Regions from separate parts of the Homo sapiens genome. Here region 1 is linked to region 2. Evidence: promoter capture Hi-C in human tissues and cell types (Jung and others, 2019). All regions are on one chromosome and are shown on one strand. The core of a region is centred on a gene start or on the middle of the fragment in contact, and the rest is flanking DNA. Distances in the headings are between cores, read along the strand shown.

Region 1 (3,618 bases), core at 576-3,075, 64 kb before region 2:
CAGATGCCAAACACCTTCCATCTCTTCTTTCTGGGAGGCTCATTCCCACAGCTCTTCTGGCTGATGGTAAACCTTTAACTGGTTCTGAAGTTTGGGGCATCACCAAGAAGCTTGTGTTGACCATGTGATATGGTTTGGCTCTGCATCCCCACCCAAATCTCATCTTGAATTTTAATCCCCACATGTCAGGGGAGGGGTCTGGTGAGAGGTGATTGAATCATGGGCATGGACTTCCCCATTGCTGTTCTTGACTGTGAGTGAATTCTCATGCGATCTGGTTGTTTGAAAGTGTGTGGCACTTCCCCTTCACTCTTTCTCTCTCCTGCTCTGCCATGGTAAGACACGCTTGCTTCCCCTTTAAGTTCTGCCATGATTGTAAGTTTCCTGAGGCTTTCCAGCCATGCTTCCTGTTAAGCCTGCAGAACTGTGAGTGAATTAAACCTCTTTTCTTCACAAATTACTCAGTCTCAGGCAGCTCTTTATAGCAGTGTGAAAATGGACTATACAGAAAATTATTTATAACAGCTATAAAGATATCTGAAAATGTGGAAGCAACTTTGGAACTGGGTAACAGGCAGAGGTTGGAACAGTTCGGAAAGCTCAGAAGAAGACAGGAAGACGTGGGAAAGTTTGGAACTTCATGAAGATTTGTTGAATTGTTTTGATGAGAATGCTGATAGTGATATGGACAATGAAGTCCAGACTCAAGTGGTCTCAGATGGAGATGAGGAACTTATTGAGAACTAGAGTAAAGGTCACTCTTGCTATGCTTTAGCAAAGATACTGGTAGCATTTTTTCCCCTGCCCTAGAGATCTGTGGAACTTTGAACTTGAGAGAGATGATTTAGGGTATCTGCTGGAAGAAATTTCTAAGCAGCAAAGCATTCAGGAGGTAAACTGGCTGTTTCTAAAAGTGTATGCTCATATGCATGAACAAAGAGATGATCTGAAACTGGAACTTACATTTAAAAGGGAAGTACAGCATATAAGTTTAGAAAATTTGCAGCCTGGCCATGTGGTAGAAAAGAAAAATCCATTTTCTGGGGAGAAATTCAAGCCTGCTGCAGAAGTTTGCATAAGTAAAGAAGAGTTAAATAGCCAAGACAATGGGGAAAATGTCTCCTGGGCATTTCAGAGACCACTGAGGCAGCCCCTCCCATCACAAGCCCAGAGACCTAGAAGGAAAAAATGGTTTCATGGCCCAGGCCCAGGCCCCAGCAGCTCTGTGCAGCCTTGGGACGTGATGCCCTGGATCCCAGCCACTCCAGCTCTAGCCATGGCTAAAAGGGGCCAAGGTACAGCTCGGGCCATTGCTTCAGAGATTGCAAGCCCCAAGTCTTTGGCAGCTTCCATGTGATGTTGGGCCTGCAGGTGTGCAGATGGCAAGAGTTGAGGTTTTGGAATCTCCACCTAGATTTCAGAGGATGTATGGAAATGCCTGGATGTCCAGGCAGAAGTCAGCTGCAGGGGCAGAGCCCTCATGGGCAGTGCAGCGGGGAAGTGTGGGATTGGAGCCCTGACACAGAGTCCCCACCAGGGCACTGCCTAGTGGAACCATGAGAAGAGGGCCACCGTCCTCCAAACCCCAGAATGGTACATCCACTGACAGCTTGCACCATGTGCCCAGAAAAGCCACAGGCACTCAATGCCAGCCCATGAAAGCAGCTATGGGGGCTGTACCCTGCAGAGCCACAGAGGCAAAACTTCCCAAGGCCTTGGGAGCCCACCTCTTGCATCAGCATGCCCTGGATGTGAGACATGGAGTCAAAGGAGATTATTTTGGAGGTTTAAGATTTAATGACTTCCAGCCAGGGACAGTGGCTCACGCCTGTAATCCTAGTACTTTGGGAGGCCGAGATGGGTGGATTGCCTGAGTTCAGGAGTTCAAGAACAGCCTGGGTAACACGGTGAAACCCTGTCTCTAATAAAATACAAAAAATTAGCTGGGCATGTCAGCATGTGCCTGTAGTCCCAGCTACTCGGGAGGCTAAGGCAGGAGAATTGCTTGAACCCAGAAGGTGGAGGTTGCAGTGAGCCAAGATAGCACCACTGCACTCCACCCTGGGTGACAGAGCAAGACTCTGTCTCCAAAAAAAAAAAAAAAAAAAAAGATTTAATGACTTCCTTGCCAGGTTTTGATCTTGCATAGGACCTGTAGTCCCTTGGTTTTGGCCAATTTCCCCCTTTGCAATGGGAGCATTTACCTAATTCCTGTATTTCCATTGTATCTTGGAAGTTACTAACTTGTTTTTTATTTTACAGGCTCATAGGCGGAAGGGGCTTGCCTTGTCTCAGATGAGACTTTGGACTTAGACTTTTGAGTTAATGCTGGAATGAGTTAAGACTTTGGGGGACTGTTGGGAAGGCATGCTTGGCTTTGAAATGTGATGACATGAGATTTTGGAGGGGCCAGGGGTGGAATGATATGGTTTGGCTCTGTCCTCACCCAAATCTCATTTCGAATTGTAATCCCCACATGTGGGGGGAGGGGCCTGGTGGCAGGTGATTGAATCATTGGGGTGGAGTTCCCGCTTGCTATTCTTGTGAGAGTGAGTTCTCACAAGATCTGGTTGTTCAAAAGTGTGTGGCACTTCCCTCTTCACTCTCGCTCTTTCCTGCTCCACCACGGTAAGACATGCTTGATTCCCCTAACCCCTCCACCACAATTGTAAGTTACCAGCCATGCTTCCTGTTAAGCCTGTGGAAATGTGAGGAAATTAAACCTCTTTTCTTCATAAATTACTCAGTCTCAGGTAGTTCTTTATAGTTAAAATGGATTAATATATCATGTGTTGATGAAGTTCCTGTTATTCCCTCCTTACCCTCCTACGTGGATTATCTAAAGATATTTATTTCACTCCCACAAAAATGTTTTGTTCTCACCCATTCCCGAGAGCTGAAAGTAGGCTGTGGGAACTTTGAGTGAGAAAATAAGAGCAGCCTACTCCCCCTGACCATATTCCTGCCTGATGGCCAGTATTTGGGTGACACTTCACCCTGCCACCAATTTTTTGAGTCCTATTTCCCACAGACTCTGTGTTAGTCCATTCTTGTGCTGCTATAAAGAAATACCTGAGACTAGGTAATTTATAAAGAAAACAGGCTTTGATTTGGCTCACGTTTCTGCAGGCTGTACAGGAAGCATGGTGCCAGCATCAGCTTCTTGTGAAGGCCTCAGGAAGCTTTCAATCATGGCACAAAGTGAAGGGGAGCCAGCACATCACATGGTGAAGAGAGGGCGCAAAAGAGAGAAGGGGGAGGTCTCAGATTCTTTTAAACAACCAGTTCTCATGTGAACTAACTGGGAGAGAACATCACCAAGAAATGGTGCTAAGCCATTTGTGAAGGATCCACCCCCATGATCAAATCACCTCCCACCAGGTCTCACCTCTAACAGTGACGGTTACATTTCAACATGAGATTTGAAGAGGACAAACACCCCAAACATAACAGACTCACTTGTGACTTTGCCCTGTAAACTTTCAGGGAAAATGAGGTCACTTCTGACCCAGAGACTCTGTCATCTTACCCTCTCCTGGGGGTCTTCATCTAAAGAAGTAAGTGTAAATTCCTTACTGATCCAGTTTTGTATGTGTATGTGTGTGTATACACAAAATT
Region 2 (3,712 bases), core at 422-2,921:
CTTCCCAGCAAGCCTGCCAGGTAGGGAGACTGTTATCCTATTTCCAGTTAAGACTGAGAGGTAGGGAAAGGAAGTGACTAGCCCAAGATCACAAACATAATGTTTAGATCTTAGATCTATCTGCTTCAAAGCTGCCACTGCATTATACTAAGCCGGATCAAAGGGCATATGTTCCCTAGATAGGACCTGGGTCGTCCTCGGTTCGCCCTTTCCGTGACACTAGCGTCGGACGGCTCTCCGCATCACGGAGTAGGGATTGCTGCCCGCCACTCCCTGTGTGGGCATCCTACTCCCTATCTCTCCAGAGCACGGGGATCTGCCTCTCTTCCAAATCTGGGGGGCGAGGGAGGAGCGGAGGGTCGGCATCCAGCCAATCACATGGCAATATGCAAATAGACACGACCCTGCCTTCTTAGGATTGGCTAACCCGTCAGCGTTATTGTCCAAGTCTCTCCTCTCTAAACACTGAGCTATTCCGGGCGAGGGTTTGCGGCTCTGGAGACCTAGGGGGAAAAAAGTCCTTTGGATCTGGATCTCTGAGCCGTCCCGGTCGGGCACCCTCCTTCCCCGCCCCGGCCCCACCCCCACCCCCAAGGCTCGAAGCTCCCGCAACCTTCGCTGCCTAGGTGTCCCTTCTAGCTAGGGCCAAGCCTGGGAAGACGCCCCCTTCCCTTGGCTGGCCAGGCCCCTCTCCCTTCCCGCAGGACCCCTCCCGGTCCCGTATCTCCCGGGCTGCACATATTTTTTCATTCATGACCCCCAGGTCTGGAAGGGCCGGGCGCCTGGGTCCGGTTCCTTCCGCTCCTCCTTTTCCTTGCTTGGGGAGGACGAGGTAGAGAAAACCAGGGTCCTGACTCACTTTCCCCTTTATATTCCCTCTGTCGTCACTAAGGCCCACTCCTCAGGAGCCCAGAGAGAAGCCGGTGGGTTGGTAGGCAAAGCAGGGCGGGGAAGGGGCAGCTGTGTGGCCCTCTCTGCCTTGTGGCTTCCCACCTTGTTCCTGTCTTCTCCAAATCCAGCCCCATACCCTGAATCCAGGGCCCTCCTCACACATTCTTTTCCTCGGATATGTGTCTTCCCGAAAGATCTTTCCTACCCACTCGCCTGTTCCTTGGTGAGCTGGGTGAGCGCATAACTTGGCGGGGGGTGGGAGAGAACCCGGGAGGAGGAAACACAATAGAATGTTCCCGAGGGTTAGGAACGTCGAAGTGGAGTTCAGAAACGCCCCCGGCCGAGGCCAGAAAGCTGGGCTCGGAGAGCAGGTAGAGCCGGGAGGCTGCGGAACACCCCAGTCTGTCCTGGGTCCCGGGGTCCCCACCCTCCAGGGTCCAGAGCCGCGCCAGGACAGCCGGACTCACCACCACAGTCCGCCGACGTGCGCCGGGCACAGGAGCAGCAGCAGCAGCAGCCCGAGGCGGGAGGGTAAGGGCGGCAGCATCGTGACCGCCCTACGGCCGCCCGGGTGGGCAGGGGGCGAGGCTGCGGGGCGAACCGCGGCGCGCGAGGGCCCGGGCTTCAGTGCGAGCGCGGCGAGCGCAACGGCGGCGGCCGGGAGGCGAGGGATCCGGCGGCGGCGGGGGGGCCCATCCCGGGCGAGGAGGGCGCGGCGGAGGCGGAGAGCGGACGGGGCAGCCAGCGCCTGTGTCTCCTGCGGAGCTCGCTCGGGAGAAGAAATCAGAGCCGGGGGCGGAGGTGGGAGGGGAGCGGGGCCGAGGCGGGGGCGGGGGGCAGGGGGCCGGAGGGAGGTGGCAGTTGCGACAGTCAGGCAGCGGGACTCTCGGGAGCGAGCCGTGCGCCCCGGGGCGGCTGGCGCGGAGCGCAGCGGAGGGCGGGAGCGGGGTGCCGGGGCGGGGCCCCAGCGCGCTTCGGGCTGTGGGACCCGCCCGCTTCGCCCCCTCGCCTCGCCTCTCTCGGACTTGGAGCCCCCCGCCGCTCGCGGCCGCCTGGAGTCGGGGGCAAGGAAGGGCTGGGAAGAAGAGTAGAGAGGGGTGAGGGGGGAGAAAGAGGAGCTGAGGAATGGGGGACGGGCTGGAAGGGAGACGTTTGACAGGTTTGTTGACTGTAAAGAGAGAAAACTTCCCAGGAATGAGGGAGTTTGGGGCGGGGGGCGGTGCGGAGGGAGATGCTGGCGCGGAGGCAAGAGAGGAAGTTGGCCTGGGGCGCGGGGTGCTTCGGCGAGGGTTGTCAAACTGGACCGCCCGACAGGCGGATGCTGGAGGGGTCATCTCTTTCCGTGTCCCTGTTCGATGCCTCATGCCCCTTCGTCAGCCTCTCCTTGAAGAAGGGAGGAAGCCCTGGGCCTCCGCTCTCGCTCCCCCAGCCATCCCACCTCTCAAGCCCGCGTTCTAGGGCGGGGAGGTGGGGGAAATGAGAGGGCAAGAGTAGCCGCTCCAGGGCGTGCGCGCAAGCGCTGGCACTTGTAAGCGAGCGGGAGAATGGAGGTCGCAGACTTTCAAGAGATCGAGGGGTCAGAATTCGCTTTAGCCCGGCCTCGCGTGTCCAAGAGTCCCTGCCTCGAGTTCCTCCCCCAACCTGGCCCGGGTAGAAGGGGTGGGAGAGCCAGCTGCAGGTGAGATGGCGTTTATCAGATTTTCTAATGCCACAAAAATGTCTTTGATGCCCCTGGCCCCCTCCCCACGAGGGGGAGATCAAAGGCTCCGTGGGGAAGAGGGACAGCTCCATTCATCATGCCATTCGGCTGGCAGTGGGCAGCAGCCCCTGCCCCTCCCGTCCCCGACGTGCCCCGGGGTGCCAAGGGACAGGTGGTGTGGGACATTCTCCCTGCCATACCATCAAGAGCAACCATCAACCTTTAAAGCTGTCCTGGAGTGGGGAGGACAGATCGAGTCCCTATGGCAGAAACGTCAGGCGCCCAGAAGAAAGCTCCTGGTTGTTGGTAGAGAGGGGGACCTGAATGTGGGGACTGAGGTCGCTTCCAAGAGAGTGATGACTGAGGTCACTTCCAAACAACCTTGGTGAGCAGAGAGAGAAGACAAGATCCTGAGTCACCCAGAGAGGGGGGACAAGTAGATCAAGATGAGGCCAAGGGGCCAAGGGATGTGACCCCAGGGGAGGAGGCTGATGGGGGAAGGAATGAGCAGACAGAGGTGAGAGAACTGGAGAAGTGTGGACTTGCCGGCAAGCAAGCTCCATGTCAGGGCCCTGGTGTCCAGGCTGCATCAGCTCAATCCCTTGCACTGGATACAGAGAGTTCTGGTGAAAGGGCTAGGACACACTAAAGAAGGGGAAGGGGGCAGGGGGCAGTGGCAAGAGTCATAGAGAGAGGGTCTGGTCTAAGCACTGCCCTCTCCCATTTTAGCCTTTAACAGTATCCAAAGGCCACGCACAGCCCCTGCACCTAGTAACTTTGCACACAGTTGCTGTTTCTACGGGGCAATGCCAATCTGGACAGTTCCTAAAGGTCAATGCCAACTCTGGACACTACACATTCAAAGACATACCCAGTTTGGGTGCACACTCCAGCCATGTGGTACCAAATAGGCAGCTAGAGGGCTCTGGGGGTCCCTGGAGGCTACAGGTGGCCAGTGGCCAGCCTCCTGGGAGCCACTGTCTGGGTTCCGAACCCCCTGCCCAGCCCTGCTCCCACCCTGCTACTGTTATTGCAGATTATGAAATGCTCTCCCTATCCTGCATTCTTCTCCGAGGCAAGAATTTTAATGTATTTGTCTTTGTCATCAGGGGACCTGGGCTC

Evidence for each region. Contacts are between HindIII fragments. The study calls those that stand out against the background at their distance.
Region 1: a fragment that was not itself captured here is called in contact with the fragment with the promoter of WNT6 in region 2 in 1 of the 25 tissues and cell types used here (aorta).

The regions. Positions count from the first base shown.
Region 1 is chr2:218,921,629-218,925,246 of GRCh38, reverse strand. It overlaps LINC01494 (long intergenic non-protein coding RNA 1494), which reads left to right. Exons shown (of 5, transcript NR_110238.1): 3 at 3,487-3,557. It overlaps LOC124907984 (a long non-coding RNA gene), which reads right to left and starts at 355. Exons shown (of 2, transcript XR_007088091.1): 1 at 1-355. The HindIII fragment of the contact is 4,123 bases long and covers 1-3,618 here.
Region 2 is chr2:218,857,764-218,861,475 of GRCh38, reverse strand. WNT6 (Wnt family member 6) reads right to left here and starts at 1,671. Exons shown (of 4, transcript NM_006522.4): 1 at 1,359-1,671. The coding sequence starts at 1,438. The HindIII fragment of the contact is 31,874 bases long and covers 1-3,712 here.